7 separate regions of the Homo sapiens genome follow, and regions 2, 3, 4, 5, 6 and 7 are each linked to region 1. The links are contacts of gene promoters, found by promoter capture Hi-C in blood cells and fetal thymus (Javierre and others, 2016). All regions are on one chromosome and are shown on one strand. The core of a region is centred on a gene start or on the middle of the fragment in contact, and the rest is flanking DNA. Distances in the headings are between cores, read along the strand shown. Region 1 holds the start of LIG4 (DNA ligase 4). Region 2 overlaps TM9SF2 (transmembrane 9 superfamily member 2). Region 3 holds the start of TMTC4 (transmembrane O-mannosyltransferase targeting cadherins 4). Region 4 holds the start of FGF14-IT1 (FGF14 intronic transcript 1). Region 5 overlaps LOC107984588 (a long non-coding RNA gene). Region 6 overlaps TEX30 (testis expressed 30). Region 7 overlaps BIVM-ERCC5 (BIVM-ERCC5 readthrough).

What was found. The method cuts DNA at HindIII sites, captures the fragments that hold promoters and counts their contacts. A CHiCAGO score of 5 or more calls a contact.
Region 2: a contact is called between a fragment that was not itself captured here and the fragment with the promoter of LIG4 in region 1, in 1 of 17 cell types (fetal thymus). The highest score is 5.6, in fetal thymus.
Region 3: the fragment with the promoter of TMTC4 here is called in contact with the fragment with the promoter of LIG4 in region 1 in 1 of 17 cell types (fetal thymus); the score reaches 7.2 in fetal thymus.
Region 4: a fragment that was not itself captured here is called in contact with the fragment with the promoter of LIG4 in region 1 in 1 of 17 cell types (fetal thymus); the score reaches 7.6 in fetal thymus.
Region 5: a fragment that was not itself captured here is called in contact with the fragment with the promoter of LIG4 in region 1 in 4 of 17 cell types (fetal thymus, total CD8 T cells, total B cells and 1 more); the score reaches 12.9 in fetal thymus.
Region 6: a fragment that was not itself captured here is called in contact with the fragment with the promoter of LIG4 in region 1 in 1 of 17 cell types (fetal thymus); the score reaches 6.1 in fetal thymus.
Region 7: a fragment that was not itself captured here is called in contact with the fragment with the promoter of LIG4 in region 1 in 1 of 17 cell types (fetal thymus); the score reaches 11.9 in fetal thymus.

Annotation. Positions count from the first base shown.
Region 1 is chr13:108,213,770-108,217,077 of GRCh38, reverse strand. LIG4 (DNA ligase 4) reads left to right here and starts at 1,542. Exons shown (of 3, transcript NM_206937.2): 1 at 1,542-1,594; 2 at 2,468-2,540. RefSeq lists a silencer at 1,340-1,479 and an enhancer at 1,323-1,617. The HindIII fragment of the contact is 5,824 bases long and covers 1-3,077 here.
Region 2 is chr13:99,501,529-99,504,836 of GRCh38, reverse strand. It overlaps TM9SF2 (transmembrane 9 superfamily member 2), which reads right to left. Exons shown (of 17, transcript NM_004800.3): 1 at 3,060-3,308. The coding sequence starts at 3,230. Among named protein-coding and RNA genes, the nearest start is that of TM9SF2, 1.7 kb to the right of the region's middle. RefSeq lists an enhancer at 2,985-3,308. The HindIII fragment of the contact is 178 bases long and covers 1,765-1,942 here.
Region 3 is chr13:100,673,068-100,676,375 of GRCh38, reverse strand. It overlaps TMTC4 (transmembrane O-mannosyltransferase targeting cadherins 4), which reads left to right and starts at 1,581. Exons shown (of 19, transcript NM_032813.5): 1 at 1,581-1,632. RefSeq lists enhancers at 911-990, 2,316-3,205 and silencers at 1,181-1,680, 1,711-2,070, 2,121-2,200. The HindIII fragment of the contact is 7,703 bases long and covers 1-3,308 here.
Region 4 is chr13:102,393,853-102,397,160 of GRCh38, reverse strand. FGF14-IT1 (FGF14 intronic transcript 1) reads left to right here and starts at 2,642. Exons shown (of 4, transcript NR_036486.1): 1 at 2,642-2,807. It overlaps FGF14-AS2 (FGF14 antisense RNA 2), which reads right to left and starts at 2,583. Exons shown (of 1, transcript NR_036487.1): 1 at 1,456-2,583. It also overlaps a transcript of FGF14 not described here. RefSeq lists an enhancer at 2,507-2,736. The HindIII fragment of the contact is 3,160 bases long and covers 253-3,308 here.
Region 5 is chr13:102,591,881-102,595,188 of GRCh38, reverse strand. LOC107984588 (a long non-coding RNA gene) reads left to right here. Exons shown (of 2, transcript XR_001749984.3): 2 at 788-1,852. Among named protein-coding and RNA genes, the nearest start is that of TPP2, 3.5 kb to the left of the region's middle. RefSeq lists enhancers at 2,193-2,740, 2,621-2,950, 2,981-3,200, 2,741-3,290 and a silencer at 2,976-3,151. The HindIII fragment of the contact is 727 bases long and covers 1,301-2,027 here.
Region 6 is chr13:102,763,263-102,766,570 of GRCh38, reverse strand. It overlaps TEX30 (testis expressed 30), which reads left to right. Exons shown (of 6, transcript NM_138779.5): 6 at 1-683. The coding sequence ends at 170. All of the region lies in intron 2 of LOC105370337 (a long non-coding RNA gene), which reads right to left. Among named protein-coding and RNA genes, the nearest start is that of LRTM3, 5.8 kb to the right of the region's middle. The HindIII fragment of the contact is 7,460 bases long and covers 1-3,308 here.
Region 7 is chr13:102,842,434-102,845,741 of GRCh38, reverse strand. The region is part of intron 9 of BIVM-ERCC5 (BIVM-ERCC5 readthrough); the gene reads right to left. Among named protein-coding and RNA genes, the nearest start is that of ERCC5, 1.9 kb to the left of the region's middle. RefSeq lists enhancers at 1-111, 322-371, 1-780. The HindIII fragment of the contact is 8,959 bases long and covers 1-3,308 here.

The sequences.
Region 1 (3,308 bases), core at 293-2,792:
ACATATGTGTCTTGCTACCAGATGGAGAGCTCCAGGTCAAAGCTGGGTTCTTGAATCATAGCTTCCTAATCTTGATCACGGAATAAGTGCCAAGCATATATAAAGTAGACCATTTACATAAATAAATTAATAATCATGGCAACTCTAGAAGATACTTAGTGAAAAAAACCCTTGATTGTCTTTGAACCAATCAACTAAAATAACATGATGAAATGGAGACTGGGCTTTGAATCAATTTGGAGTTTGCCTGGTTTCATAATTCATGGTTCTTCTCATGTAACTAATACAAAGTCCAGCTTCTGACATTGTAGGAGCTCAGTAGAGGTTGAACAAGCTACAAATGTACACGGATAGGTACCCTCTCCTAAGATGGGCAAGTGGAGGCTCCTCTACCTTAACACTATTCATTTTTCCTCCAAAATAAATTGATAACTAAATTGAAGAGCAGATACTCACAAAACAATATCATGAGACTTTACAACATCACAGATGATTTTAGATATTCAGGCATATTAGGTCAATTAGACATACGAAGTAAATAACTGAATGTTCTTGGGCTAGACGGAACCTCCGCTACAAACTAGCACTGAATGAAATGTGTCAGTTTTGAAAAAGGAGGTTTTTATACATTACACAACCTCTAAGGGCACTTAACAGCTCTAATATGTTTTATCAGGGCCCACTGCAGCAAAATTTATTTTATTGTAAAGCAATATTTTATGCTAAAATAAAATAGTTCTAAAAGTTGTTTCCACCCCTCTTTATGAATAACTTCTCACTTCTCCATGGCGAAAGAGGACTGACCACAGCAAAAATTCGGTGGAAACCAACAGCTCCTGGAACACAAAAACTGGGGTTGTTTATAATCTCTCCACCCTGAATATCTAGCACCATTACTATATAATAATAGGTGCTCAATAAAGGTTTGTTAAATAACTTTATTTTTAAACCTTAAACAGATACTAGAAGAGTCCATAGTTGATTTCTGGTCATGCAACGGTTTATTTCTATATTGTAAGTTATGTATTGTTATGTATTATTTCTGTATTAAGAGAACTGAGACCACAGTAGCAAACATCATTTAAAAAAAAAAACAGCTCTATATAGTTTGCAAAAGCCTATTTTTTAAAAGTTTAAATGAAACAACCAACGTTTTGAGTTGGGAGGATGTCCTGTTCTCTCTTGGGAGTTTTCACAACCAGCGAAATCAGTATAGTTACCACTGTTTTACGTACAGAGAACAAGAATTAGAGGCTATCACTAGCCAGAGCACAAAGTGATCTTAGGTCTCCCTCGAGACAAAATCCACTGGCGTGTGGATCAACTGCTTGCAGAGAGCATCTGCTGCCGAGGCCAATAGGAGCCGTGTGTACTCAAGACCCTAACCAGGATCCTGCAGGTCCCGCCTCCGCAGCCCCACGGGGCTGCCGGCCCCCCCACCTCCCATCGCGAGCCTGGCTGCGCCGGCGTGCTTGAGCCCGGTGACTGCAAGGCCCCGGGTCTCCCCTGCGCCTGCGCGGCGAGCAGCTGGCGGAACCGGCATCTTCTGGCGCCAGCTTCCGGCTTAGCGGCTGAGCTTCAGGCTTGACGTCAGGTGGGAAGGGTGTGGGGTGGCAGGTGGGGGCGGTTGGGAGGTTGGGGGGGGTTGGGGTGGGGGGGGTGGGGGGTGGCAGATTGACGGTGTGGGGGGAGTCAAGTGGAAGGTGTGGTCCAGCAGGCGGCGAGAAGTCTGTGGGGCAACAGACCGGGGGAAGGTCTGTGGGGCGTCAGGCGGGGTATCTGTGGGACGTCAGGTTGGGGTCTGTAGGGCGTCACGTTGGGGGTCTGTGGGGCGTCAGAGGGGGGAATCTGTGGGGCGGCAGGTGGGGGGTGTTCGGGGCGGGGTTTGGGGTGTGTGTGGCGGCAGGAGGCGGGGGAGGTCTGTGGGGCGTCAGGTTAGGGTCTGTGAGGTGTCAGGCGGGGTTTACGTGGGGTGGCAGGTGTGGGGTGTGTGGAGAGTCAAGTGGGGGGTGTGGGGCGTCAGATTGGGGGTCTGGGGGATCAGATGGGTGGTGTCTGGGACGTCAGGCGGGGGTCGGGGGGTCGTCAGGCGGGGGATGTGTGGGGAGTCAAGTAGGGGAAGTGGGGCGTCAGATTGGGGGTCTGGGGGATCCGGTCGTGGGGGTGTCTGGGACGTCAGGCGGGGGGCCTGAGGGGCGTCAGGTGGGGGGGTCTGGGAGGCGTCAGGCGGGGGTCGGTCTATGGGGGCAGCAAGCAGGGTGTTTGTGCAGCGGCAGGTGATGGGAGTTGCCGAGTCCACAGCGCTGTAGACTGCGCCGCATTAGAAGCCTGGCCTCCTGATGCTGTGCTCTTCATCTAGACCCAAGCCCCAGGTCGTGGGACGATTTCTCCCGTTTTTGACTCCCTGGAACTGTATTGCCTGCTTTACCTGCGTACATGTTGATTCTTTCTCATGGCAACCCCGCAGGAAACCATCAAGATCTCATTTTACAGCTGGGATTCTCTGGTTCACAGAGGTAACGGAGCTTGCCCGAGGCCAGGTATTCACTGGGAATCCGTGAAGGGTTGGGGGAGAGTAGGGGGAACGGGCAGAGGAATGATGTAGACTCCTTAGGGATTTTCCATTTTCCGAGAGGGTACAGGGGGCATTGGAGCGGGAGAGACTTTAGGCTTGGAGGGAATTACTTTATTTCTCTTCTTACACTTGGTCTTTCATTAACTTTTGGGATCCCAAAGCCCTTCTAGCGTCTTTGTCTGCTCATTTCTTTTTGCTGAGATTGTCCCAAATTGTCACTAAGTGCTGTGGAAGATAGGCAGCTGTAAACCCTTTGTTTCCTAGGGAAACACAGCTTGTCAAGGGTTGCATGAAGGATACTTCAGTTGCATTCGTCACTTACTCCTTTTTTTCCTCTCTCTTTTTTAAGTGCAATAGCATAGCACTTAATCACCTTCCATAGTCACTGAATAAAACCTGCCGGTTTATTTTCATGTGTCACTTCAGGACAATTTAGTCAGAACTGAATGAATGATGAATCGTTATTGTGTACTAATTGCTTGCATTCATTCTCCTGAAAGCTTTGCTTATTGTTAAAGAGTGAAGCTTCTTCCCACCTTTTTATCTCGTTAATATTTTGCAATATTTATATTTTAAATGTTGCTTGGATCAGCAAGCATTATAGTATTAAAATTATCAAGACTTACTACTTTTTAAAGCACATTTTGTAGATTATCTGATTTTTATCTTCATTCTAATTTCTACATAGTTTTTAACCCCATTTTATACTTTAGGAAACTGAAGCTTAGAGAAA
Region 2 (3,308 bases), core at 604-3,103, 8.7 Mb after region 1:
CTATAAAAAGCAATAAGAATGTGCACCTCCTCAATATCCAAATGCACGCACATGTAAAATAAGTTAAAAAAAGGAGGCCATGAAAACATACTCACAGTATCTATGAAGGCTAAGAAAATTAATCAGAAGTTACAGCAATATAAATAGAATTTTATATTCACTGGACTCCTGTTTCTCTGCCAGTAAATTCAACATAAGATAATTTTTAAAGAGAGAAAATTACTAAATCCTCAGCATTCTTCTGATTCTCTCTCAATTTACATCCTGAGCTAAATGCATGAGACAAACTTTACAGTACATAAAAACACTCTACTACCTAAATTATATATAAGTTGAAGATATATTTGTTTCATCTCTACACTATCACAACAATGACAAATATTGCACTTTTCCTCTAAGAAATGCAAAATACCTTTCAAGGGGAATATGTCATAATCAAATATGATTATCCCTATTTTACAGATGGAAAAACTGTTGGTAACAGTATCAATGACCTGCCCAATTTCTCCAACTTCAGATTCACTAACTTAACAGCATCTTTTGGAAAAAATTATTTCCATTTCACAACTCTCATTTCTAATTTTTAAAAGAAGTTCCTTCCACTTTTCTGAATAATGTGTACAAGACTGTCCTCCTTAACAAATACGAAATAGATGAGAATAAATTATTAACATCCTGATTGAAGTAATACAAATTTCAACTGTTTACTGTTATTTATAGCATCTTCTTTGAAAGGCAAAGAAAATAAATATTAAAGTGTATTTCAAATTCTCTACACCAGTTAGTCATATCGCAGGAAAAAAGCTGAAAGTACACCCTCCTGCTCTTCTAAGAGTTGTTTCCATTAACCAGATGTGAGTGTAGCTGGCAATAAAGATAAAAATCCAAACATTTCGGAAAAATGATCTGCTCTGCCTGTTTTATCCCTATACCTATGAAAATTAAACATCCAAAATGACTCCCAAGATTAACTAAAAAATAACTAGAATACAACCTAGCCACTTACCAAAGGACCTGTTGAGAAAACAATCATCTAACTGGAAGACCACCTATAAGTTTCACTTATTCATTTTCTAAGTCCATCTCAAATGTCACTTCTTCTTCTTTTTTTTTTTTTTTTTTTTTTTGAGACAAAGTCTCGCTCTGTTGCCCAGGCTGGAGTGCAATGGCGCGATCTCAGCTCACTGCAACCTCCACCTCCAGAGTTCAAGCGATTCTTCCTGCCTCAGCCTCCCGAGTAGCTGGGATTACAGATGCCCGCCACCACGCCCAGCTAATTTTTGTATTTTTAGTAGAGACGCGGTTTCACCATATTGGCCAGGCTGGTCTTAAACTCCTGACTTCAGGTGATCCACCCGCCTCGGCCTCCCAATGTGTTGGGATTACAGGCGTGAGCCACCACACCTGGCCCTGTCACTTCTTCTATAGAGCTTTCCCTAAAGACTCTAGTCCACTGATGTTTCCTCATTTTGTTTTAGCACACTTTGGACATCATCCTGTGTAACAGATCAGATTTCAATAATCTGTTCATAAGCTTATGTCCCTTACTTTGAGGTTCCCAGAGGGCAGGAAATATATTTTTCATCTTTGAGGCACTAGGAATAGAATATACAACTGCTGTTAAAGTAAGACCAAACACTAGGCCTTAAAGGTTGGTTACTAAAATATTTAATGGAAAAACCAGTGTACTTGCAAGTCTAGATCTTCCACTTGGAAGCACAACAACAGTCTTTCAGTCAGAATCCTCAAAAAGGAGTGAAAGCTTCTTGCACTGCAGAGTATGAACTTAAGTACTGAAACACTAACTGCAGACTTGAGTAAACCTTAAATATCCTTAGATATTTTTTCAGATACAAGGTTTTGCACAGATGTATAAACATGTCATTCAAGATAGCTGACAACCTAAAAAGAAACTGCAAAATGTTATGAAAAATTTAAAGCTTATCTAATGCCCTAAAATAACCTCAAAATTCACAGCTATAGTAAAGCTAACTGTAATAAACACCAGCTTAAAAAAATCAAACTTAATAAATAAGCCTATTTATAGATTGTAAACGTTTGTTGAACGATTATTTGAATTGTTGAAATCATTAAAGGTTTCAAAGAGATCCTCATCCCCCAAATGTTAAGTTTTAAATAAACTTAACGAAATAATTGTGTATGTATACTGTAAAGCCCTACACCATATAACCTAAAAGCAGGTTACTTTATTTACGCCTCTTTTACTAGCAATTAAACTGAAAACCTTGAGTGTGAATGTTGTAAGAGATCAAAGTTTTCAAGACTTGCCCTAGGAAAACACCAGTTTCTCCCACCATTTGCCCCTTTTAAGTGTTTAAAACCATCTCAGAGAAAATAGTGAGACCTCGTATCTTTTTTTGTGTATTAAAATCTTTTACACTTAAAACTCAGAAATCAAGTGCCTCAACCATTACAGCAACTCTTTATTAATGCACTTTGTGTGGCTCTGGGTGTTATACTCCACAAATAAGGAACCAACTTCTAATTGTGAAGCGAGATATCAAAGTCCTAGAAAGAACAAGCTCTCCTAACCAACTAGAAGGTTCCAGGAAAATGCAATTAAACAGGAAGCAATGAAGTTAAAAGCTAATGGAAACTGTTAACTAGGCTGAGTGTTGCTCACATGTAGGGAGTCGGTCACCCGCTTCCTCAGCGTACATGTTACAGGGCTGTGAGCGAACACTCACGCGTGGACCTGCATACATCCAACTCCAAAGCTCTGAGGCGTGAAGCCCAACTCCAAGGGCGCTCCACACGGTCCCTGTTCCAGGAAAACTGAATACAGCTGCTCGTGCCACTTGGCCCGCAAGACGGGAGGCGAGTCTGAGGCCCACTGCGTCCTCCAGAAACTACCCTTGCAAGGGCTGTTTCAGAGCCCCCCACCCACAGCCCAGCAGACCCCAAAAGCTTCTGGGGAAACTCAACCCCACCCGCTGCTACGCCCCCTTCCCTCGCTCCCACCCGAGGATCAGCTCCCCCGGATAGGGACGACTTCCCCTTCCAACAGTGCATCAGAGGGCTCGTCAGGCCTCACCCACCTTGCACTCGTCGCTCTTTTTTTCTTCGTCGCAGAAGTTGACGGGCGCCAGGCCGGGCAGGTAGAAAGCGCCGCTCCGGCGCGGGCCAGGAACCGCCCCCAGCAGGAGCAGCGACAGCAGCAACAGCCGCGGCCACCGAGGTGGAGACAACACCGGCAGCCTCGCGCTCATGATAGTTGTTTCGGGGAAAGGGCAATCAAACCTAGGGGGTCAAGAGGGAAGGAGGGGTGGGGAGTCTCGGAGACGACT
Region 3 (3,308 bases), core at 332-2,831, 7.5 Mb after region 1:
AGTTATTTAGGAAGTAGAATCTTGGCGATTTGTTAGATGCCGAGGTGAAGGCAGAGTTTGGGAAACACTGGATAGTGGTGTCTTCACTATCACAGGGAGACAGGGAGTTGAAAGCAAGCAGGGAAAGGACGCATTCAGTTTTGGATGGGTTCCATTTGAGGTGCTTGTTACCAGGAGTAGCTGAATAGGAAGCTAGATAAACGGATTTGGAGCTCAGAGGAGCAAAGATTAGAGTTGCAAATTTGGGATATATTGATTTAAATGTTGACAGCAGGTTAAATCATTCAGGGAAAAATTGTGGAGTAAGAGGAAAGGTCTGAGACCTTGAAAACTCTGTTATTTGGTGGTCACCCAGAGTAGACAAGCACGCCAAGACTGGGGACAGACAGGAAAGTGGAGCACCCCCGCCACAGGAAGACGTGTTTTAAGGAGAAAGAAGGAATTTTGCTCAGATCAGTTAACACGAGAAAGGAGAGTGTCCTTTGACTTTAGTGATGTGGATGCTACTTGCGACAATTAAAAAGGCAATTTCACCGAGTGTGAAAACGAACACGTGGAGTTGAGAGACCACAAAACTGGGGGCAGGCGCCTCTTTCACCAACTTCAGCGATGGAAAGTAGAAGAGGGTGGCAGCAAGGGTACGTGGAGTAGAGAATCTTGGAATGATGAAATGCCGAGGATACGGATTCCAGTCCAGAGGGAGCAACGGATCGGATTCTGCGATACTGGAAAAACAGAAGGTGGGGGGGGGGGCTCGGTGATGGAGGGAGCAGGTGTGCAGTTTTGCCGGTGGAAAGTGGAAGTTTCTCTTTTCTCCTGAAGCAGGCGGCAAAGACCTCTGAGAGTGGGAGTGTGGTGGGTGTGCCGGGCCCCTGGATGGGAGTGGAGGTTTGGAACCAAGTGGCCCGAGCCTGCGGTGAGTGGGCCCGCCCTGGGTGGCTCTGGCCGCAGCAGGGTCGATGGGGCGGCATGGTCTCGGCGGGAAGAACACGGCTTCAGTCAGTTCTGTTCTAAGAAGCAGAAGGTGGAGATACGCATGTTTTAAACAACTCCTCCCGGACAGGAAGAAGTGGAGTTCTGGCTGTTCTGCGAGGACGCCGCAGTCCCAGCGTGGAGACCACCGCGCAGGCGAAGCGCGAGACAGGCCAGAAATAGGGTCCCGCGCGCGGACCCCGGAGGAAAAGCGAGGGCTCACTCGGTTTCCCGCAGCCAGCCTCGCCCGACCCAGCTGGGGCCGCCCCTTCCCGCCCCGGCCCCGCCTCCGCCTCAGCTCCGCGCCCACAACCCGGCTTCCTCCTCTCCCGCCGGGTCCGTCTGTCCCTGCGCCTCCTTCGCCGCCGACTAGCGCCCCCTGGCCTGACGTCACCGGCGCGTCCGCCAATGAGCTGAGGAGGGACTTGGCTGTGGCCTGAAAGTGACGGGAGCAGCAGCCAATGGTCGGGCGGAGGGGGCGGGCCGAGACTGGTGCTGGGGGGCGCCCGCGCGCGTGGGGAGCTGCGGGAGGCGCGGCGCGGGGGGGGTCGGGTGCGCGGCGGGCGGCCCCTCCCCCTGCCAGGTCCGGGCGGGTGCCTGGAGCCGCCAGAGTTTCCGCACCCGGGAGGGAGATGCGGCCGGGGCTCAGGCTCCTTGCAGGTAACGCGCGGGGCGGCCCCTGCAGGGCCGAGCGCGCCGCGGGGCGAGCGGAGTTGGACGCGGAGCGGGCGCGGGTTCCCCGCTGCCGCCGTGTCCCGAGCCCCGCACGGCGGCCCGGGCCAGAGCGGCGCTGCTGGAGGAGTTGGTTCCGGGACCTGAGCTGCGGCCCGGGCCGGGGTCACGGGGGACGCGGGCCCCTGTGTGAGCCGCACATGGGACAAAGGGCGCGGCGTGGAGGCTGCGCGCCCCGCCCGCCGCGCTCGGGCCCCTGAGCTTCTCCGCCCGGGCAGAGGTCGCCGCCCCCAGCCCCTGCCTGCACAGCCGCGCCGGCGCTCCCTCGGCCCGGGCGCACCCGGCGCCTGCGGCGCGTCCCCGGAGCGGCCATCTGGCCGCGGGGCCCCGCGCCTGGCCGCCAGCTGGCCGCGGCGCAGGCGATGGCTGGACACAGCCGGGCCGCTTGGCCGCCTGCCCTGGGTTCCGCGGCGGCTCCCCCGCCGCGCCGCGAGCGCCTGCTACTCCACGCTCGGCTGCGGAGCGGAGCGGCGCGAGCGCGGGGCCACCGGCCCGGGCGCCCGGGGCCACCGAGCCGCCGCTTCCCGGCGTGGGCTCGGAGTTTGGGGAAGCCGAGCAGGTGGCGCAGCCACTGCCCACCTCCTGCGAACTCTGCGGGGCTTCTGGTCTTGTTGATGTTGTGGCTATGGGCTGCGTGTGTGTTTTTCTTTTTTTTAAACCACACACAAAAGAAGGGAGGAGTTAGAGGAACGATCTAGCCACTATGAGTCATCCCACACTTCGCTCTTTCCCCGGGAGAGCAAATAAATGCATGGGGAGAATGTCTTGAGAAACAGTTATAGTAGGGACTGACTAGGTCCCCTCCCTGTCCCTTTTCTCTGCAGTCCTGTCTGCGCCGGGCGCGCCCCAGATGGAGTGGGGTAAAATCACGGCCAGTGCACCTAGATAGGGGAAATGGCTACAAGCTAGCAAACTGGAAACTTTCTGGGACAGTGGAACTGTGAATATCAAACCACACACATTCTTGCTATAGGCAGCCATGGCCCTCGTGCGCTACTGAATTATAAAATGGGAAGGCCGTCACAGCAGGACGATACCTTAGCCTTCAGTAGCATGTATTCAGCACTGCACGGAGGAGGGCGGTGGTGGTGGCTCGCGCCCCTGCCTTGAGGGGCCCAGGGTCTGATCAGTCAGGAAACTGCCAGGCCCAGGGATGCAGGGTCACAAACGATTGTGTTCTCTAATCTGATTCCCAGAGGCGCTGTCACCTCTCAGCGTGCATAGGATGGCTGGCTATGTGATTGAATGTTACAGATGAGGTAGAAAGGCTGGGCAGAGGTCAGCAGGCCCCTGGATGCATGGAGGGGAATATTCTTCTGTAGGTGGCTGCTGCTAATTTTTCCAAGGGGAAACATTTAGGTTTGGTCTCGCCATTCTGTTTACCGCAGTCCAGGCTGCCGTGTCAGCTGTCATTGGGCCCTCATGGTTCACAGCTGGATGACATTTGTTTTTCTGGGGTCCCTGTGTGGGGTCTTTTTGGCCTTCTCACTGATGATTAATTTGTTTTAACCTCCTGAAAACAGAGGCTCGATATGAGAAGTTTGAGAAATTGTAGGATAAAGGGACGTCTGCTTTGTTCCAGATTCAGCCCCTGTTGAGGGGCC
Region 4 (3,308 bases), core at 583-3,082, 5.8 Mb after region 1:
AAGAGTGAGCACTTTTTACTCCCCTCCTTCTCAGCCTACCGACTCATCCTAGGTTCCAGTAGAGCTGGGTGAGCCACAAATGGGCCACAACCTCTGCAAGTCTAAACACTGAGTATATTTCAAATGAAAACATCAAATTCAGACTGCACGTCTGGAACAGCAAACAGATGTAAGCTGCTTCTTCTAACATGCTTGGCTGTAGAGTGGGATTCAATGTAGTATTAGTTGGCCTTAGACTCCATCCAGGAAGCTTATTTACTGAGGTAACAAAATGGGTTTTGTAGAGCAGTGCCACTCCATGAACCAAAGGATGGCATTTTAGGTAGGCTTCGGAGTACTGCCTTGTTGGGAGAGTAGATTTTTCTTTTTTGAAATGTATATCCCAGTTAATAAGTGTAAAATTCAATGCATGATAATCTAAACTTAGTTTTAACAATGAAGATGACTTTGGCTGTACAACTTGTTCTCATCTTAGACAGCATCCATAACTGAGAAAATTTGTTCAAATGATGCAGTACTTTCTGAAAGTGCTAAAGCTAATTCTATACTATACTTCACGTTTCCTACAATGAACCATTCCTTTAAAATGTTCGAACCCAGTCTTCCATGTTTTAGCAACACAAACATTGGAGACTTTTGTGAAGTGTTTTTATACATATGGTAACAAGGACAACAACCAATGTTTTCACTCCTTTGCACATTTTGGCATCATACCTCACTCAAATTGACTCATACGCCTTCTATAAATACCACGTAGATGTCTCAAAATGGAAGCATTTATTCAAAATAGTGTCTTTTGCCTTAAGGGGAAACAGTTGGGCTGTTTGAACAGTCTAACAGGAGCTCTTCTCTTCAGTGTTAAACAAGTCATTGCACTGTGCCTATTTTTAATAAAACCTTTGAGCCCAACTCAGTATTACCTCCAGGAGGGACTGTGGAGGTAATACTATTTACCTCCTGTAAATAGGGACAGGGAAACACCTATTTACACATCTGCCTGCTCACTGCCATAGTCTGTGTGGTGTTCCTTAGGACTTGTGTACCAGGTACAAGGTTTAGTTATGTGTTGAACCCGGGTACTGAAGGGCATGGAGTTTTCTGAGGGAGACTTCTCAGCTCCCCGTATACCTCTAGAGATGCAATAGCTCTTTTGTATCAAGACCAACTATGTCCTGATGTTTTCCCTGTGTAGTTCTCTAGCTGCCACTATTTTTTTTACTTTGGTCAGAATGTAAAAGGTAGGATGATGAAGAGAAGGGAACAAAAGGAGGGATTCTTAGGGACTTCCTAAACTTGAAGGCAAAAAGGATGAATGTCGCAGACATGTTTTATAGGGAACAGTGAAGTTCTTGTTTGATTAGTCTGGTAACATCATGTAAGAAAGTCACCCAACAACTGCTGGGCACCACTGCCTTTGTCACTGTCTCTTGACAAAAACTCTGTTCACGACACATGGTAGGTTTTCAATACACTTTAATAAAATAGTGAAAAATAGGTATCTCTAGGATAGTGAACTATGGGACTACAAAGGGCAGGACGATACATTTTACTTGGTTAAATTCGCTTAATGCTTACTCCTTTCTCAAAGCGCCAACCAAGAATTTGGCTACTAAATAAAGAAAAAAGCTGTTAGTGGCTCTTTATCCGCCACGATAGGGTGCTCTGAAACCCGGTCCTGCAGACATTCCCTTGGCCCACATTTTATAGCTTCCTTCTCAGTCTCAAGGCCTGTAGTCTACTGTTCACACTCGAGCCTCTCGCAAAATACACAAGCTCAAAAGCTCATGGCGTTCTCCCCATCTGGCATTCTCGGCCTTAGAATAGCAAACGTTAGGGCACCATTAGGTTCATAGTTGCCAGACCCTTCATTTTCTTTTTTAATCTTTAATTTTCTTCTTAACAAGGAAGACATTCCGCAAAAAATAAACTCCCTCTTTTGAGCTCCTTTCTCTGAAGATGGTAACTGGAACTCTCATTAGTAAAGAACCTCGAGTTCCAGTTGCTTTGGACGGAGTTTCTCGCTTAGTATTTTGCTCTTTGGCAGTTTGAAAAGCAGTAATCTTCCAACTTCGCAGCTCCCTGCACTCGCGCCTACCACCCTGATCTATTTGGCTTTCTCCTTTTTGGAGCCACTTTAAAAGGTGCAGGGTGCTGGGCCGCTGTGGCCTCGGGCTGAGAGGCGGGGAGTTGGTGTCCGGGACCAGAAAGTTTGGCAGAAGCCACGGCTCTGGGCCCAGGCCCCGGGCTTCCAGAGAAGTGTGTCATTATTTGTTTTCTGCAAAGCCGCGAGCGGGCCCACGCTGCAGCTCTGCCTCCAGGCGTGGAACCCCTCGGTAATCCGGGTGAAGCTGGGTTCCGAGTGTGGACTGCTTCGGCTCTGAGGAGGAGGGAGCCCAACGGGCCAGGCACGGGCTTCCTCCTGGCTTTACCCATTGGCCCAGAGTCCCCGGTCCCGCCGCCGCTGCCCTCTGCTCACGGGGACCGGCCATCACCGCGCTCCCAGCCTCGGCTCGCCGGGGGCTTCGCTACGCAATGCGGCGGAAGCGGCCCGTTGGAGCCGCCGTAGCGCGGGAAGTTTCCGTTGCCACGGAGATGACCTCTGACCCTAGGGCGTCTCTGGGACCCGGCAGCTTGTGCTGTTGTTGCTATGGAAACCATGGCGGCCGGAAGCCGCCGCGCGGGAGAGACTTGGGGCGCGGGTCGGGGCTAGGGCTCCTGCCCTGGCAGAGATCTTCGCTCTTCCGTGGTGGCCGGGGACCGGGCAGTGAGCGGCCGGCTCTGCCGCCCGCGGGGCGCGGGTTTGCAAGGTCACTCCTCCGGCGTTGACGCGGGGGCACCCCATGTGCACTGCTGGACCTGAGGGATGGGAAAGCCACAGGTGGCTGCCTTGGCCCTCCCGGTCTGGCCTCCCGCTAGCGGGCGCCAGCTCTGGACCCGAGACCCATCTGAAGGAAAGGGAAGGGAGCTGGCGTTGCTGGTGATTCTGCCCAAGCTCAGGACTGGGAGAGAACGAGCCAAGTTCTGGTCTCAGCTTACACACTAGCTACTGGGAGACCCTGGGCGGGTCCTGAAGTTTTCTGGGCTTCAGTCCCCTCGGCTACTACAAGAAGGATATTGATTAGAGTAATCCCAGATCAGCCCCAGCTCTAATATTCTAGGTTCCCATAACGTTCACACCCAGTCCTGATTGTAAGTAAACTTCCCTCACCCCTTCCCTGTATCTCTCCCGGACTATGTTAACTATATATTTAAATTGTACTCTAAATTCAGAGACCATCAGAGATAAGAGGTTGACCTTAGCGATCACA
Region 5 (3,308 bases), core at 415-2,914, 5.6 Mb after region 1:
TACAAAACAGGTTGATGAAAACACGGGATTTGTCTTCTCACAATCTCTCCCCAGTATGTTCTACCACACCATGTGCATGACTTTGCCAGAGTATCACCCAATGAATAAATGGGGAATGAACAGTTTATTATGAAACCTAGGTGGCAGACTTTTTATTAGACTGCCGTAACAATGTTCTTTAGATTTTTCTTTTCCTTTCCTTTTCTTTTTCTTTTTTGACACAGAGTCTCACTCTGTGGCCCAGGCTGGAGTGCAATGTCACAATCTCGGGTAACTGTAACCTCCGCCTCCCGGGTTCAAGCAGTTCTCCTGCCTCAGCCTCCCGAGTAGCTGGGATTACAGGTGCATGCCACCACACCTGGCTAGTTTTTGTATTTTTAGTAGAGACGGGGTTTCGCCATGTTGGCCAGGCTGGTCTTGAACTCCTGACCTTAGGGGATCCACCCACCTCGGCCTCCCAAGGTGCTCAGATTACAGGCATCAGCCACTGCACCCGGCCAGATTTTTCTTTTTTTGCTTACATATCCCATAAACATGTTTTTAAAAAAGTTATGTATCCCTTTGTACAGCTGTAAAATGAAGTCTAAATTTGTCACAATTTTTTTTTTTTTTTTTGAGATGGAGTTTTGCTCTTCTTGCCCAGGCTGGAGTGCAATGGCGGGATCTCGGCTCACTGCAACCTCCACCTCCCGGGGTTCAAGTGATTCTCCTGCCTCAGCCTCCCAAGTAGCTGGGATTACAGGCATGTGCCACCACACCCAGCTAATGTTTGTATTTTTTTAAATAGATACGGGGTTTCTCCATGTTGATGTCAGACTGGTCTCGAACTCCCGACCTCAGGTGATCCACCCGCCTCGGCCCCCCAAAGTGCTGGCATTACAAGCGTGAATCACTGCGCCCGGCCTATCATAAATTTTAAAAATTATAAAGGATGTAATTTCTGGCATAGTATAAATATCGTCATTATTTAATGAAACTTTCACGTTTCTCATGTAAATATACCCAGTTGAGTGTAACTCTGATAGCTACCATCAACTATTTATAAAATATCTGAACACTTAAAAGCAGACATTTTATATCACTATTTCTTCTGGAAACTTTATTTCCATTCTATATGGAATTTTTTCTCATTGTAATTTGCATTTATAATGGAAAGGCATATTGATAATGTATCATCATCTGCAATAAAAATATATTAATTTTAAAAATTTTCCTGGAAGAAAAATGTTAAACTTATTCTTTTGGGTTATCTTTCAGTTATTACAAAGTTGATTACAACAACATGAGTAAGTCTTAAGCTTTGATTAAAAATTACAGGACAAAAAAATTTTTATTGAAAATAGAGCTCTTAAAAAGATGCTTGGTATAAATAAGTCATGCTTCTGTTAATGACAGGACTAGTTAAAAGGATAAGATTTGTATGTCTGTGTCTCTTGTAAAATTGAATCATCAATTCTTAAGAAGCGAAACCAGGATATATAAGTATTACATAATATGCCCAGAAAGTAATGTGAACAAAATTCAGACGTACGTTGAAGCTCCCATTTTAAGAATCACTCATATGACAAATGTCATCTTTTGCTCTATAACCTTTGCTTAAATTGTAGAAAAGATGGATTTAATGAGACAAATGAAAAGTGGTTTAACATAACACACAGCAGAGCATATGCTGTTATGCTTTGGTGTTTGTTCCCTAGCCCTTGTTCCTCATAATAGATTGTGGAATGTTTCAAAAATGCTGTAACTTTTTTTTGCTAATTGTGGTCTTAACAAAAATTGTTCTTGATTTTAAAAAAAGATGGATAGGATTGGTTATTGAACTTTGATATTAAATAAAGTTTTAGTGATAGTATTTCAAATTGTCCCGTTATTTGATGCCCCAGAGGCTATTACACCTGCAGGTGGTGCATAATAGTAAGATTCGGGATGTGTTCCTTTTCCCTAAAAGGTGGGAGACCCAGCACTGAAATAGGTGCAAAAGAGAATCATGTCTTTCCGCCACAGGCACGCTGCCAGGCAGATAAGCTTAGAAAAAAGTGGTTGACTTCAGGCATCTGGAAATTGATTTCATCGAAACTATCCATGTACCAGTTTGAAACCCACTATTTTATATAACCCCTGAAATCACTTTAACTCAATACAGTCATTTACTGTTTGTCTTCAAGCCAAATGTTGTACATATTATAAGTGCTTACATTTTTTCCTCCTTTGATTTAATGACATTATCACTGGGGGGAATTTTTAATGCTAAGACAGTTTGTGTGACAGTTCATTGGATATTGGAAACAAGTAGAGAGTATAAGTAGAGAAACATGGATAATCTGTAATAATATATAATAATAAAACAAAAAAAAATGAGGAGGAGGAGGAGAGGCAAAAACAAGGTCAGTAGGCCTAGGCGTTGGTCATCTTATGGAGGGTAAAGTATTAATAATAGGCTGGACGCACAGCAACTTCTCTCACCCAGCATTGTTCAAAGCAGGAAGTGCTGAGTCAGATGTTTTTCCTGTCACCTGCCCCATTTGAGGCTGCAATCCAAGGCACAGGTGCTGTGGAAGGCAATAGCTTTCTATGAATCGCCTTCCTTGCAACTATTGCTGCAGCCTATCGTTTAGAGAATATTTTAAAATTTAATTTTCCAAGACTCTAGAGATTGCATAAGCATCCTACATGTGCCAGCCGCTGGGCTTTGAAATCTTCCTCTGCCTTGCAGCGAGGCCGCACCTCCCGTGGGCGGCTCCCAGCCCGTGATGGAAGCGAAGGGATGCTGGAGCAGATCTGTTTCGGGAGGCGGGCAATTTCGCGGACTGCTGTCTCAGGCTCCAGGACTCCCCGGCCGGCTTTGCCAAGTTGGACTGCGTGGTGGTCCAGGGCGCTTCCACCCAGCCTCTCTGCCTCTCCTATTTACTCGGCGTCAGACTTGCATCGCGGCCTGATGCCTCTCTCAGCTTTTTGTGGACCCTTGACTACCTGACCTCGCGCAGGCACTAACACGTATCCCTGCTCCTCACAACACGTCCGCCCCCACCCCGAGGACCCGAAACTAAAATAGCTCACACCAAAGAAACAGGTTCGGATGCATGAAGGTTCGCCACTGCTGCCCCCCAAAGGCAAAAGCCGTCGTTACCGTTTCTACCAAAGATAACTGAGTCCAAAAGCCAGGGCGACCTGATCAGCAAAGTTTAAGTTACAAGGCCGTGCCTGGCTGTATGGAAGCCTGATCAAGTAGTTCTGATTTCTTACCTGGAGAGCAGGACTGAAAATGTGGGAAATTCCATAAACATAGGAAAGCTTTCCAATGATGCCAG
Region 6 (3,308 bases), core at 375-2,874, 5.5 Mb after region 1:
AGAAAGTGGCACAGAAAATGCAAGCTCCCCATAAAATCCACTGGATTGAGAAGGCAAATCATTCCATGGCAGTGAAAGGACGGTCGACAAATGATGTTTTCAAAGAAATAAATACACAGATTTTGTTTTGGATCCAAGAAATTACTGAAATGGACAAGAAATGTCATTAGTTAAAAGCCATGTTATCTTGAGTACACATACAGTTAATTTGATAAAGAAGAGTATGCCTCTCAGCATTGTGAGATATATTTCAGACTAATTTGATGTTCTTTAATGTTCCCTTATTTTTGAAACACGTTTTAAATGTGAAATTAATGTCCTTCACAAAATGTCTTTTGAAAGCACTGTTACAGTTGTATAAAGATGATGTAAAAATATTGAAGGTGGTCTACATATAATTTATTTTCATTAGTATAGTTAAGTTTTGAAAAAAATTAAACATCTGAATTTTGTTACAAAAAGGTGCTTTTGTCTTATTGATAGGCAACTGAGAAATTTTGCAGAGCAGCGTTATCTTCAGAAAAGGAAAACATTATGGTTAATCTAGTCAGAGATTTATAGAATGCACACATCTCTTCACCTTATCTTTTAATAAATCACAATGAAAGGATAGGAGTGGACATATGTTTCAAATATGGGGACCCTGAAGATTTTTTAGAATGAAATAAAGATCTTTAATTCAAGAAGTGTTCACTGAAGGCTTATTACAGGCAAACCTCATTGGGTTTGCAAAGATGAATAAAAACTTGGAGCTTACAACATAGTGTGTGAGGCTGGGCACGGTGGCTCACATCAGTAATCCAAGCATTTTGGGAGGCTGAGGCAGGCGGATCACTTGAGGCCAGGATCACTTGAGGCCAGGAGTTTGAGACCATCCTGGCCAACATGGCAAAACCCTGTCTCTACGAGACCATCCTGGCCAACATGGCAAAACCCTGTCTCTACTAAAAATACGAAAATTAGCCAAGTATGGTGGCACACATCTATAGTCCCATCTACTCGAAGGATGAGGTGGAAGAATTGCTTGAACCCAGGAAGTGGGGGCTGTAGTGAGCCCAGAGCACACCACTAGACTCCAGCCTGGGCAACAGAGTGAGACTGTGTCTCAAAAACACAACATAGTGTGTAAAATCAATAGACTACTCTGATTAAAGAGAGAAATAATTGCTAAATTGTAGTACTAACATCTTTGCTATATCTATGCAGTTGGGGCACTTAATTTTGCCTTGGAAAGTTCAGCTATCACCTGATCTCGAGCTTGAATGGTATTGAGTTATATATAAAGAACATAGTTTCTGTATTTCCTGTAAAATTCACAAAAGGTGATGAGGCTGATGTTAAATTTAAATAGAAGTTTGTAGTAAGAAATGTTTCTTTAATCTTTTGCATATCCTCCCTACTACTCTTAATGTTAGGCCATTAAAATAGCCTCAAGTGGCCTGGGCAGCTTGCAGATTTTTGAGGCCCTTTATTCCTCTGCCCTGATGGAATCAGTAGATTCAAAATATTAGTTTTCTAAATATGACAAAGAGAATGAAAACGTAGGTAATAATGTCCAAATCTTTCACATTGTAAAGTGATGCATAACTATAAATTTAAAATTCCTGTGACTATTTATAATAGATATTCTTGACTAAAAGTCATTTCCTGAACCTAAATTTTTAAGAATGTTGTATAAGTAAACAATAATTAACATTTGAAATTTTAAAACACTACTAATATCAAAAGATGATAAACATAAAAAATATCCAAAGCTATCAAGAAGATAGAATCACTGGTCTATTAACCACTATAAGTCATTGAAGAACATAAGTATTGTGAACCAGAAGTAAAGCTAACAGGACAAGGAAAACACAAAAGACAACTTATTACATAATGTTAGAGTACAACAAAACATTTAAAAGGCTACTGACCAGGCTATACAATTTACAATATTTGCGTTTGCAAAATTAAACTATAGGCATAATATGATGACCAAAGATACTACATCAAATATAGGGGTAATGTAGGTAGATGATCATTTAAAGTTGATTTTCCCCTGAGTTTTCTATAAGAAACTACTGTTCCTTATTGATGTAATGGCTTGACATTTGAGGACTGTATAGCTAGCCATATTTGGGGAACATAGAACTCCTAGAGAAAGATGAATGATGTATCCACAGCAGAAACGAACATTTAGGAAAAGGTCACATCTGCTCTCCTCCATAGATTTACCACGCCTTGCAGGAAAATGTTCAGCCCCTTCAAGTTTGAGATTATAATCAAAGAGCCATTCTGGCACCTCTTCTGGTAGGCCCTAATTAATGGCATAGCTGTTATTGAGGGGGTCTTGACTGCAAGTTGTCCAGGTTCTTGACGTTTTGGATAAAGAATTGGACAAAATGCACAGCAAAGCAAGGAAAGAGTGAAGCAAAGAAAGCATAGATTTGTTGAAAATGATAGTACACTCCACAGTGTGGGAGTGGGCCCAAGCAGCGGCTCAAGGACCCTGGAAAAGGAATCTTCTGGGGCCCAAACACCCTCTAGAGGTTTCCCATTGTCTACCTGGGTGTTCACCCCATGTAAATGAAGTGGTGGCCCACAGTCAGTCTGATTGGTTGCAGAAAGCAACCAGTCAGAGGCTGAAGTGAAGTTACAAAGTTACACTCCCATGCAAATGTCTGTTTGCAGAAAGCAACCAATTTTGCAACCAACTTTCAATTTTCTATCTGCTGCACAGATAAGGTGTGGGTTTGCAAAGGGAGTAGCCTCTGGTCTTTTTGTTACTTAGGCATGGAAAGTTGGGGTTTTCCTATCAACTTAGTTGTAGGAAGTCAGGGTGAATTGGTCTTAGGTTCTCTGCCTCCAGACCCTGTTCTCCTGCCTCATAAACACTCACCTAGACTAATGCTCCCCACCCAGGGGGGACCTTTACCCCTTAGGGCAGTGGTCCCCAACCTTTTTGGCACCAGGGACCCATTTCATGGAAGACAATTTTTCCACCTGACTGGGTTGGGAGTGGCGGGGGTAGGGATGTTTTCTGGATGAAACTGTGCCATCCCAGATCATCAGTCATTAGAGTCTCATAAGCGCACAACCTATAGATCCCCCATGTGCACAGTTCAAAATAAGGTTCCCTGCTGCTATAAGAATCTAATGTCACAGCTGATGTGACAGGAGGCAGAGCTCAGGCAGTAATGCTGGCTTGCCTACTGTTGGTTCATAGTGGGCCACGGACCAGTACTGGTCTGCAGCCCGGGGGTTGGGGACCCCTGTCTTAGGGGATATTTGGCAATGTCTGGAAATATTTTTGTCACGACTAGGGTTGG
Region 7 (3,308 bases), core at 1-2,500, 5.4 Mb after region 1:
AGTTTAGCGCCAGTGGTGATGCCTTGGTGGTTACTTGCTTCCGTCACGCTGGCATCCTGAAGGCGTTAAGCATTAAAACAATGTGCAAAAGCGCCTTCTTGGTGGAGTAACGGGCTTTTGTTTTTGTTTGAGACAGGGTCTCACGCTGTCGCCCATACTGGAGTCCAGTGGCGCATTCTTAGCTCACTGCAGCCTGGAACTCCTGCTGCCCGAGCTCAAGCAACTTTCCCATCTCAGCCTCTCAAGTAGCTGGGACCGCAGGTGCGCACCACTATGCTTGGCGAATTATTTTTGTAGAAATGAGGTCTCCCTGTGTTGCCCAGGCTGGGAACTATTTTCTACACGCTTTTTTAGTATCGGTTTCTACCTTTGCGCCGCCGTGTGTGAAGATACTTAACACAAAGTGTTGTTTTACACGTGAAGAGACAACCAAAAGGTGGATGCCTTCTTGGTTTTGTACTATTTATTTATATGCTAGCACGTAGTAACTAAAGAATAATAAAATTTAAAGCCTGTGAAAATGTTAGGGTCCCAAAATTACTAAGCAAAAGGGAAAAGTCAAGCTGGGAACTGCTCAGGGCAAAACCTGCCTCCCATTCTAGTCAGTCATCCTTCTGCTCACTGAGATAGATGCATATTCTGATTGTCTCCTTTGGAAAGGCTTATCAGAAACTCGTATGCAGCCTTTTGTCTCTCATCTACCTGTGACCTAGAAGCCCTTCCTGCTTCCGAGTTGTCCCCACCTTTCTGGAAGGAACCAGTGTACTTACATATGTTGATTGATGTCTCCTGTCTCCCTAAAATGTATAAAACCAATCTGTGCCCCAACCACCTTGGGCACATGTCATCTGGACTTCCTGGGGCTGTGTCACAGCTGCGCGTCCTTAACGTTGGCAAAATAAACTTTCTAAATTAACTGAGACCTGTCCCAAATTTTGGGGGTTCACAAGCCTTAATCCTTGACATATAGTTTAGTTTTCTTCAGCATCTAAAAGTTATAATGCCGCGGCTTGTAGATCAGAAAGGACTAGAAATCAATTAACAGAGTAACCCCAGAAAAGGCCACAGCTCTGGAACCCTCAGGCCAAGATTCAAATCCCCGCATCGTGCCTCACTATGGTGTTTAGCATCCCTGAAGTCACAGTTGTTCAGAATTTGTGTCTCCATCAGTAATCAGGGCATAAAACCAACCTTGCAGACTTCAGTAAGTATTCAAGGTGTTACATGCAACGCACTTAGCACTAGTAACTATAAAGGATAGTATTAGCATCCATATTTGTTCAAATTGGAACGAAATTTAAACTCAGTGAAAAGGCTGACTTAAGGGAGCAGGCAATTTTTTAAAGACTTCTTTATAACAGAAGTATACGGGAAATTGATTTTTTTTATTTTTTTATTTTTTATTTTTTTGACAGGGTCTCACTCTGTCGCCCAGGCTAGAGTGCAGTAGTGCAGTCTCAGCTTACTGCAACTTCCACCTCTCAGGCTCAAGTGATGCTCTTGCCTCAGCCTCCCGAGTAGTTGAGATTACAGGCCCCCACCACCACGCCCTGATTTTTTTTTTTTTGAGACAGGGTCTTGCTTTGTTGCCCAAACTGGTCTCAAACAATCCTCCTGCCTCAGTCTCCCAAAGTGCTGGAGTTACAGACATGAGCCACCGTGCTCCGTGGAGAAATCCATTTTTAGCAAAACCACTTCTATGCTCAATAAGATGGTTCACAGTGGCCATGTTTGGTTGACCTAGTCACATCTAATTTGCTACAGGAATAATCCTGACAAAGTGTTTTTTGCATTTCCTCCATATGTAAAGTAATCCCCAGAAACTGTTCCCAGTTGTTATTTTACTGAGAGTAATATAACTGCCTGTTCAGTATTTGTCTCTTCCCCATGGTAAACTGTAAACTTACTGAAACGAAGAACGATTTTCGTGACTGCTACATCCCCCAATCCTGGCACTTAGCAGTTCTGTAAATATTGCCTAAATGACCTCTTAAGCCTCTAGTCTAAAGCTCTCCAGTGCACCTTGCAGTCTGCTGAAAGAATCTGCTTGGAGGTTAGGCTGATCATTCATTCAGATCTCATCTGAACCATATGTTGCCTTGTGTTATGGTCTGAATTGTGTCCTCCAAAATTCATCTGTGGAAGCCTGAGTACCTCAGAATGTGACTATCTGAAGACACAGCGTTTAAAAATGATTAAATTGAAACGAGGCCATTAGGATAGGCCCTAAATCCAATTTGACTGGTGTCTTTGTAGAAAGAGGAAATTGGGCCACAGGGAGAGACTCCAGGGATGATAGGCACAGAGGAAAGGCCTTGTGAGGACACAGTGAGAAGGCGGCCCTCTGCAGGTGAAGGAGACAGGCCTCAGAAGAAACCAAACCTGCCTGCTCCTGGACTTCTAGTTTCCAGAACCATGAGAAAACAAATTTCTGTTGTTTACGCCACCCTGTCTGTGGTGTTTTGTTATGGTAGCCCTGAGAAACTAAGACACTGTGATCCTAGGCAGGTTTCTTCACCAATGAAACCCTCAGTTTCTGCCAGTAAAATTAGAATGCGACCAACATCTTGTTGTTCTTGTTGCTGCTGAGCTATTTAAGAACTGACCTGGTAATGGTGTATAATTTAGTTTGTTGAGTGAATCGCTGGTACAGGAGGGGTGGGAGTGTTATTGGTAAAGTTGAGATGCAGAATGTGATGGATCCTAGAAGAGCTGCCTGAGCCCCTCCAGTCTGGGAGAAGACAAGTTGGCAAGTATTTTGGGTGCTGCACCAACTTGGCCTAATGATGGCACACAGTTCTTTAACAGTAATAGCAGTAGGGAAAGGAATTGCTGCAGAATTTGATCTAAATAAACTTTTTTTTTTCTGCCTGTGAGCTGGGTAAAAATAAATAGCCAACATAGGCATTTGAGTATTGTAAGTACTTTTAAAACCAAAGCAAAGGCTGGGCATGGTGGCTCACGCCTGTAATCCCAGCACTTTGGGAGGCCGAGGCAGGCAGATCACTTGAGGCCGGGAGCTCGAGACCACCCTGGCCAACATGGTGAAACCCAGTCTCTACTAAAAATACAAAAATTAGCCGGGCATGGTGGTGCATGCCTGTAATCCCAGCTACTCGGGAGGCTGAAGCAGGAGAACCACTTGAACCCGGGAGGCGGAGGTTGCAGAGAGCACCACTGCACTCCAGCCTTGGCAATAGAGCGAGACTCTGTCTCAAAAAAATAAAGCAACATTCTTGAATATGAAATATTCTTTTGAAGAAACAGCAACTAAGGGGTGCATATGTGATTTAAAAGGAATTAGCTCC